2 separate regions of the Homo sapiens genome follow, and region 1 is linked to region 2. Evidence: promoter capture Hi-C in human tissues and cell types (Jung and others, 2019). All regions are on one chromosome and are shown on one strand. Each heading gives the region's core, a stretch centred on a gene start or on the middle of the fragment in contact. The rest is flanking DNA. Distances are from core to core; before and after follow the strand shown. Region 1 overlaps CSMD1 (CUB and Sushi multiple domains 1). Region 2 holds the start of CSMD1 (CUB and Sushi multiple domains 1).

What was found. Contacts are between HindIII fragments. The study calls those that stand out against the background at their distance.
Region 1: a contact is called between a fragment that was not itself captured here and the fragment with the promoter of CSMD1 in region 2, in 3 of the 25 tissues and cell types used here (adrenal gland, hippocampus and stomach).

The regions. Positions count from the first base shown.
Region 1 is chr8:4,952,315-4,957,274 of GRCh38, reverse strand. All of the region lies in intron 1 of CSMD1 (CUB and Sushi multiple domains 1), which reads left to right. Among named protein-coding and RNA genes, the nearest start is that of CSMD1, 40 kb to the left of the region's middle. The HindIII fragment of the contact is 4,112 bases long and covers 751-4,862 here.
Region 2 is chr8:4,992,482-4,997,125 of GRCh38, reverse strand. It overlaps CSMD1 (CUB and Sushi multiple domains 1), which reads left to right and starts at 2,212. Exons shown (of 70, transcript NM_033225.6): 1 at 2,212-2,794. The coding sequence starts at 2,710. The HindIII fragment of the contact is 12,651 bases long and covers 1-4,644 here.

The DNA.
Region 1 (4,960 bases), core at 1,557-4,056, 40 kb after region 2:
ATTTCAAGCCTGACTCCAGGATTCCTGAAGGCAACTCAGTAATATTAGGCTCCCAGGCAGAACAGTTTGCTATAGCTTTAGGTCTACAGGTCAGTGTTTTTCAGTTGTCACAAACTGTTTTTACCTAATTGCCAGATTTCATTTGCTTTTATTACTCTTCATGATTTATTATATTTTAAAATTCATACTTCTAGCATATCTGGCAACAGTCTCAAATTAATGTGTTTCCTCTTCCTGAATTTCTTCTCACATTTCTAGCTAGACTTAGGATTCTGCTTCAGCAGACACAAGAATCAGGAGCATGGTTAGGCTTCCCAAATAGCTGCTTTCCTCCCTTGTGTCCAGTGCAATTGAATGTGGACAAAAATGAGAGCGCCTGGTTGGGGATTGCCGCTTGGTGTGGAGGGAACACCATGAGTTCACACTGACTTCTGCAGGAGGTGCGTGGAAGCAATGCAACAGGTGGGAGGAGAAAATCTAAGTGGAAGGTGAACTTGTCCTGTTTGTGAAGTCTCCATTCCCTGGAATATTTTCCTCTTGTGTTGACATAGTCTTTGTTGGAACATTAAGTTCATCATACTGTAAGTGAGTGAATATCAACTTGTTTGTTTTCTGAAAGTTTCATATTTTCTCCAGTAATTTTCTGCATTTACATATATTTATAAAATAAAAATATCTGTTATGATGATATACACATGTATTTTAAATATATTATATGTTATGATATACACATATATTTTATAATATATTTAAAATACGTGTGTATATGATAACATATATTTTTATACACATATGCATTTTATAATATATTTAAAATATATTTTAATATGTATATTAAATATATGCACATATGAATTTTATAATATCTTGAAAATGTATGTGTATATATACATCTTATATCATCCTATCTTACGGTAAACAAGTATACATTTATAGTGGATGTTAATTATTTTTATTATTCATATGCTATTAAATGTTTTAAAATTATGAGACTATGCAAGGTCTGTCACTTTAAATTAAAAAAAAATAGCGAGTAAGGAGGGCTGTAAAGGTGTTGAACAACTTAAAAAGAAAACAAATCTCCAGTGGCCCCAAGTAGAAAAGAAACAACTCTAGAAAAATGATAACTCTGTCATCCATTATGAGCGAGAAAGTAATTAGCAGTTCTTAGGGTGATAACCAAATAACTCTCCCCTAAGTGGTTTTACGTCACCCCAGGATAGGAGCAAGTGGTCTTTGAGCACGTGACTGGAGCAGTCTGAGAGTAGTTGTCTAGAATCCTTCAGATACTGAAAATCACAGAACGCAGCACAGCGTTTCTCAAACTCAGCCATTCATCTGAATCGCCTGGATGGCTTTTTAAATATAATTTTTTGCCTCTGAAGTTTAACAACTACTTTCTAGAGGGGAAAGATACTGATTGGCAGTGTTTGCCAATTTCTACGACCTAAATATTCCCATGTTGGCCAATTTGAAGGTACTGTTACGCCACCACCTAACATGCAGTTTGGAAGAGAGGGCCCGGGCGTGGTGGCTCACGCCTGTAATCCCAGCACTTTAGGAGGCCGAGGTGGGTGGATCACCTGAGGTCAGGAGTTCGAGACCAGCCTGGCCAATATGGGGAAAGCCCGTCTCTATTAAAAATACAAAAATTAGCCGGGTGTAGTGGTACATGCTTGTAATCTCAGCTACTCGGGAGGCTGAGGCAGGAGAGTCTCTTGAACCCAGGAGGCGGAGGTTGCAGTGTGCCGAGATCATGCCACTGCACTCCAGCCTGGGTGACAGAGTGAGACTCTGTCTCACAATAAAAAAAAAAAAGAGAGGTGAGAGTTGCGGTCGAAGTAGTGCATCCACCAAACAGACACAGTAGGCATCAATAATCTCAACACATGAAAGACACCAATCATAATAAAAAGTCATAAAATGCATGGGAAGTACTGTTTTCTGTATTTATAACCTTAGTTTTTAAAATACAAATTAATTACAAGTTTATGCAACTTTATTGGTTTTTAAGGATGACTGTGTTTCAAAGATGCATTGCAACATTTCTGAAAACTTCTGTGCACACGAATGGGTAGAAGCCAACGGGAACAGCCCCGTAGGTCTGCACTCAGAGGGTTTCTGATATAGGGAACTGGAGGTGCAGCCAAAGAGTCCCATTTAAAGCCATTTCTGTGATGCTGAAGCGATTGTTCCAGAGCCTATTTTGAGAGCCACTGACATACAGCAATGGATGTCCCGAGAAAATCAGCTGGCTTTCTCGTCTAAGAAAGAACATTGAAAACCCAGAAAAATTAGACAGGAACATTCTAAAAGATAAAAGTGTCACAGACAAACAGAAACATGTTTTCACTGATCATTTCAATCAGGTATTTTGAAACAAAGTACTCTGAATTCCTGAAGTTATGAGTTAGTATGTGTAATCTTGTCAACACCAAAAGCAAAAGTAAGAGAAAATGAGAATTTTTTTCTTAAAGTCAAGTATGGAAAACCGTAATTCTGTGTAATAGCAGTTATTATTAATATTGCTCTTATCCTCCAGTCTCTGCATATTTCCATGGTGCTTATGTAGTTTATGATAGCTTATAAGGAACATTCACACACATGAATTCAGATGAGTACACATTGGGTATTTGCTTTTGGTAGGATTTTATTTTATAGTATATCCTTCTTTTAGAAAGTATAAAAGTTCTAAGTAGATAAAATGTGTTTATCATTTAAACATATTTTTTAAAAAAATAAAATCTATAGATGAATTGAGGTGGAATGCATCTATTCTGTTGTGCCACGTGATCAATTTCAGTCATCATTCAAATCAATAAATGGTGTCAGCTATACAATTGTGCACAGCATTGGGAGTGCTAACCTGGAAACAGCTTCAATCAGAAAACAATCACACACAAAAAATGTGTCTTTAGAGTTACAAATGGAAATATCACCTTTTTAAATAACAAGCTTCCTTTATTTAAAACCTGTTATTTGCACCTCTGTTGTAACACTTATCACACCATATCGTAATTGGTAATTGTTTAAAAATAATTTCTTAAACTCTGAGCTCCTTGAGGTTAGGGAACACATAATGTGTTTTCTGTTTGTTTATTTCTAAATGGCAAATAGTTGGTTCTTATTTGAACCTACTCTTTGGCATTTAGAAATAAAATAATGTGTTTAAATTGGCACAGGTAGGATACATGGAAGAAATGTTTATGAATTTGGAGAAAGAAAAGCACTCAATTCTTTTTAACAGGTGGGTGGGAAGGGTAACGTCTTCATTGCTGCTGTGTTTCTGGTAATCTCGGTAGTATTTCTTAACTTTACTGTGCATTAGGTGCACCAGGAGAGCTTTTTAAACATCAAAACCCTTGATCCCTACTCCTGGGTAGTCCAATCTCTAAGCCCAGGGTTGAGTCCTGCAACCTGCATTTGAACAGGGATCCCAGATAATTCTTCCTGTGGCAGATAGTTCACAAACCACATTTTGGGAAAATTACCAAAGACAGAGAGAATTAGCCTTGCAGAAAGACAGGTATTGATCTCCATCCAAATCTTGGAACAGGCAAATTTAGCAACATGTAAAAATAGCATATTGATAATTCTTTTCTTAATGTGAATAACATTTAATTCTGACTGCTTCTGTGTATTTCTATGAGTATTGCCAAGTTTTTTTCTTTACTAAATTTTATGACTAGTTGACAATCGTTTCTCAACAGTGAGAAACAAATTGAGATAAAGGTTTATAAGGGCACAGTTCAAGTTACATAACTTGCCACCGTGGACGATGTTGGGTTCATCCAGAAATGCTCCTTATAAAGCAATTATTTAGTATTTGAAGTGATAGTGTTAATCTTAATGATTTTATTTGTCCTTCATATTGATTACATGTGTTGATCGCATAGTCCTTCCATAAATGGTGATTCAGGATTTAGTATCTGTTAATGAAAAGTTACAACAAGTTCAATTGTGAATAGATATTGTACTTTCTAAAAGACTGATTTAGTTAGGCTATTTAGAAATATATGTTCAAAAGATAAGGCTGGAAAATTTTCAGCAAAACTCATTAGGAAATAAAAGATTTTCCTCCTACAATGAGTGCTACCTTATACTTTGAGTGTATCTTCTACCTTGAGAATTAAATTCAGTTAATTTGAGTTAATAACTGTTACAATTCCATTTGAATATATATTTCTTTTAAGGACTATAATGTTTTTTTGTCTTAACATCTGCTCACGTATTAATGGTCACTCTCATCTCACATGTGGAAAACCTTTAGTATAAGTATGAATGCATGGATGTGGAATAAAAACAGCCTTCTACTTTTGTATCAATTACTGCCATGTCTTGTAGTATGTAGCAGTGAATCAGTTCAGTATAGATTTCATTCAAAAACATTTGTTAACAACATCACAGTCTACATCCAACAAGCTTACCTGCATATAGTCAGAGTTATTAAAAACGCTGATTACTGTGTAGAAGTATTGTTTCATTAGGATGTAAGCTATAAATTGAAATTACAGGAAATTTCAAATAAAAATAAAGGAATCTCTCAATATTTGATATACTCATTTTAATACTCATTTTAATGTATTCCATGTTTTGCTTCTGATAGATTTTTAAATCCATATTTGAACCTCTACCACAATCACCATATCAACTATGCTCTAATTGTGAATTGTGAATTAAATACAAAATCATAGTGTGGATAATTTTAAAGTGAAAATTTAAAAATCATATTAAAGTATTGAAAAAATAGAATTTAAGTAATTCATGAAAAGGTAAACTTTTATGTCCTTAAATATTTTGCCTTTTCTTTTAGACATAGGTAATTGAAATCCAGTAAGTATGACTCACTAATATAGACTCTTCCATTTTACAATTTTTAAGTGTGAAACTGTGTGGACATTTGAATCAACGCATACATTATTCAGTTTCACTTATTGGGTTTGTTTTCATTCCCAAAAAG
Region 2 (4,644 bases), core at 963-3,462:
ATTCACTGTATAAACACACAAATACAACCATATCAGAAAACCAGCTTATTTTATTTGTCAGCCGTTTCATACCCTTCTCATAATCATGATCAATAAACAATTTGGTACGAATCATTGTAACTCTCTAATATACGATCGGGCCAAAGAAAATACCCCACATAAATAACAGCAAAAAAAATGAGTGGTTATTGGTTATCTGGACCATTATTTCTCAAGGCTTTGTATCAGATAGATTCTTTGCTCTCTGGGGAAAGGAGGTGGCATGGGACGTTTTTCAACAGAACACAGGAAAAGGGAAGTTCAGCCCGGAGCCTGTCACAATTATGTGGAAAGGTGTTCCATCTCTCAGGTGACACTCACCGTCGTTCCTGATTGGGATCCTAATCAAGTGAAAATCATCTATGAGTCCTAGCCTAGGATGGTTAGATGTTGGAAACGTTTTTTAATGGCAGAAATCCTTCTTGGTGACACGAGCCATTAGGAATGGCAGTGTAGAGACAGGGCACCGTTTCTCAAGAAGAAGTCAGCTCTTAAGCTCCTGAAAAGAGATCCGTTTTTCCGGATGAGGCGCTTGAAATGAACTATTGGAGCACTTAATGGGTCTTGGAAAGCATTTTTGTTCACTCGCTGACTCACAGATACTATCTGAGGTCTGATTTAAAATCCCAGAGGGGGCGACCCTCTGCTCCACAGGCCCGGTTCAGCCTGAAGAATAGAACTCAGGGGTTCTATGGGAATTCCCCCGTGACTGAGGCATTCTGTCTTCCGAGTGTCCCTCCAGGGATACATGAGGCAAGACGGGACTCTGCGCTGAGGAAAATCCAAGTCATGTTCAGGACTGCAACTCCAAGAGCACGCATTCTCTCCCTCCCCACCCACCCCATATTTAAATCTCATATATCTGCGAGGAGAAAAGGGTTGTGGAGGTGGCCCCAATTGTGGCCACCTGCACCTTAGGCTGCAGGGAGACTAAGAAAGTCAGGCTTCGGTGTTTCCATGCCAAGGTTGCAGTCCTTCCTGGATCCATTATGCCTTTCTAGGGTAGACTAGGTCACAGAGGCAGGAGCAATCTAAGAAAATTGAAGGAGGGATATAAAACTTTATCAAACTGTCAACCCATTTAATCTCAAAGACTGACAGAGGAAGTGCAGGTGGGATGAAGCGGTGGGCTGTCCCTCCCACCACAGGCATTCGGTGCTGTGGGGATACCGCAGGTAGATGGTTGTATACTCTAATGGTTCCAGGCCTGGAGGCTAATTCTCTCTTACTAGGGTATGGGATTTCCACGTTCTGTCCTCTGAAAGGGCTAAACCTTTTTGGTCAAGGATGTCGAATCCTTTAAATGTCCTTCTATGGAAACCAGCCCTCACTCGTGGTGTTTCTATTAACTGACCACCTTCTCCTAAAATGTCTCTCCTTACACGTTCCCCAGGAACTGCAGGAATGCCTCCTCTATTTGGGGAGCTGGGTGAAATCCAGTTTACTGTATCAAGTACTGCTATTCTAAAGCACTGTTCTCTCTCTGCGGGCTTCATCCTTTTGCAGAATCAGGGAGAACCTGTCTCTTCTCTTTTAAGGTCCCTTCCCAACCCACAGAATTTTATATATAGTTTCATCAGAAGCTGTGCCAACATGCCGGCTCTCACAACCAGACCATAATATTAATTCTAGAGACTTCCTCATGTCACGTTTTATCTGAAGCTGAAGTTTGGGCATGGCTAAATCTAACACAATCCAAAGTCAGGAAATGTGTAAATTTGTGTAACTCCTTGCAAATAGTCCATCTTGCAAAACATTATACATATCATCATATATATATATATATAAATGTATAAATATATTCCTCCCTTGGAGTTGAAGCTTGTGCCCTTTCCACCTGCATTTCTGATCTAAGTTAGGTAGGGGGCTGCTCTCTGGTCAGCAAGGAAGGGAGATCAAAGGATGGAGGCGGGACTCTGCCCCTGCAGAAACCCTCCAGTTTGCTGGAGTTGCCGGATTACATTGTTCCTCCCCGGTGTGCGGCGTGAGCTTCCCCCACCCGAGCGCCCAACAAGTCTCCTTTCTCCAGCCTGCGCGCTGCTGCGCTGAGGCCGAATGAAGCGCAGCACGGTGCGGGCAGCCCGAGGCCCCGAGGCTGGGCTCTGTCTGTCTGGGACTGCGCCGTGCCCAGCCTCGGTCCCCTCTCTGTGGGTAAGGATGGTTGAGTCCAGCCTCCACGGCAGCGGCTCCTTGTGCCACTAGCAGCCCTTCTTCTGCGCTCTCCGCCTTTTCTCTCTAGACTGGATCTCTCCTCCCCCCCGCGCCCCCCTCCCCGCATCTCCCACTCGCTGGCTCTCTCTCCAGCTGCCTCCTCTCCAGGTCTCTCCTGGCTGCGCGCGCTCCTCTCCCCGCTTCTCCCCCTCCCGCAGCCTCGCCGCCTTGGTGCCTTCCTGCCCGGCTCGGCCGGCGCTCGTCCCCGGCCCCGGCCCCGCCAGCCCGGGTCTCCGCGCTCGGAGCAGCTCAGCCCTGCAGTGGCTCGGGACCCGATGCTATGAGAGGGAAGCGAGCCGGGCGCCCAGACCTTCAGGAGGCGTCGGATGCGCGGCGGGTCTTGGGACCGGGCTCTCTCTCCGGCTCGCCTTGCCCTCGGGTGATTATTTGGCTCCGCTCATAGCCCTGCCTTCCTCGGAGGAGCCATCGGTGTCGCGTGCGTGTGGAGTATCTGCAGACATGACTGCGTGGAGGAGATTCCAGTCGCTGCTCCTGCTTCTCGGGCTGCTGGTGCTGTGCGCGAGGCTCCTCACTGCAGCGAAGGGTAAGACGGACTTGCTCCTGGCCGGGGAGGCGGTAGAGCCCTCGGAGGCCCCGTGTGCGGACGCGAGTGTGCGTTTTGGGGACCGCAGGGTACGGAGTGGCCGCCTCTGCCCGGCGCTGCTCCATCGCCGAAGCTCGGGGAACGCGATGCACGGGAGGGAGCTTCCATCGCGCTCTCCCCAGCCCTCCTGGGCCCCCGCCCCACCCCGCCATTCCTTCCCCCTCTCTTGGGCTCACAGGAGAGATCTCTTTTTCTCGGCAGTACAGGGTGTCAAGGAGAAAGGAACCCAATACGAGTTGGGCTGGAACTGTGCTCCGCCGGGGCGGTGTTGCCTCCTCCGAGACGTGGACTCCACGGGTCGGGGTGGCTGAGGGGCAGTTCCCAGGACTTTCTCCCCGGACCCGACGCGCCTGGGAAAGCGTCCCGGGTGAAGCCGGCCTGGAAAGTTCGGGCTCTCTACGGGGGTTTTGGTACCAATAGGCAAAGGTCTCCGCCGGCCCGGCCTCCTCGCACCCATACACCCCATTCCTCCTCTCCTCCTTCCCTCTCCAACGTCCTCAGCCGGCGAGGAGTAGCTGCCTCTAGAAGGTCGCCCCCGCTTTCCTCTCCCCCGGACTTCGCTCCTTGCAAGTTGTAAGGTGTTGGCAAGGTGCGTGAAACAGGCTAGGAGTTCTGGACCGGCTTCCAAGTCAGATACATTCACTGTGGGCGCACGGGTATCCTCCTTCTACGCTGGTCAGGGGAAGGAGTTTCTCTGGGTGGCTCCTGGGCTTGGGGCTCTGTGAGCTTGGTTTTCTCCCTGAATGAGTTGGGGAATGTTTTCTTCTAAGTAGCCTACAGGCTGCGACCTCAAGGCTGGCAATAGCTTGTGTACTTGTTTATTCTCCGGGAAAGAACATAAGCTCCCTTTTGAGACAGGGCGAGAAAGAGGGAGAGAGACAGAGAGAGAGAGAATACTGATTGGTTTTCACATTGGAAATACCTGCCCCTGTCCTCATTTTTAGCCTCCTTAGATGCTTTCTTTATCAGTCAGCACTTCCATAGATGTTCCCGGGAGTATCTGTATCTACAAAGGGTTTTTCTTTCGTTTCATTTTTAAAGGTTGGAGTCCAATCTTACGATTTTTTTTCAATGGTCACTTGCTTTTTTCCCTACATAATATTTCCCCGTCCTCTCTAGATTCTTCCATCTTCTTTTCCACCCATTTCCTTTTCCTCCAGTGGTCCAGATGGAAGAGTGATTGGCAGGGCGAAGGAGGACTGTATCTGGTTCATTAGGAAACTCCAGATCTGCCTGGAGAGCGGGGGAGAGACGTGCCGCCTGGGCTTCCCCTCCCTGCACTTGCCTCCACGGGGCGTCCAGGGCTCCGTGAAAGCTGACCGCTCAGCACCAGCTCCTCCTCACCGGCATCCACCCTCACAAGGGGGTGTCTGCGGGAATGCGCCCCGAGATCTCGGGGATCGCAAACAGTGGGTCTTAGTCACCCAAGCTCGTGGTCGCTCGGGACTGGGGAGCTTCTTGCAGACGCCGACCCTCTGCCCACCCGCCCGGCTCAGTCCGGATGCCTTGGCCGGTGCCTCTGACATTGCCGGCTGCGGAGGCAGCGCCTGCTGAGCAGGGCCCGACTGGCAGCGGCCTCTGGTCAGCACTGGACTGGCTGGGAATTGGAAGGCGAGGCAGCTAAAGTCTAGGGAAAAGAGGGTTGTGCCCTGTGAGGTGTGCTGGGGCGTGTGTGTCGCAGCGGGGTGAGGGCAGGAGCCCAAGGGACAGGACCTGGCTTTTTCCAGCCGAGCCCCTGCGTGGAGAGGAAACACCTGCCACGCAACTCCGCAAAACTTCCCGCCCTTTCC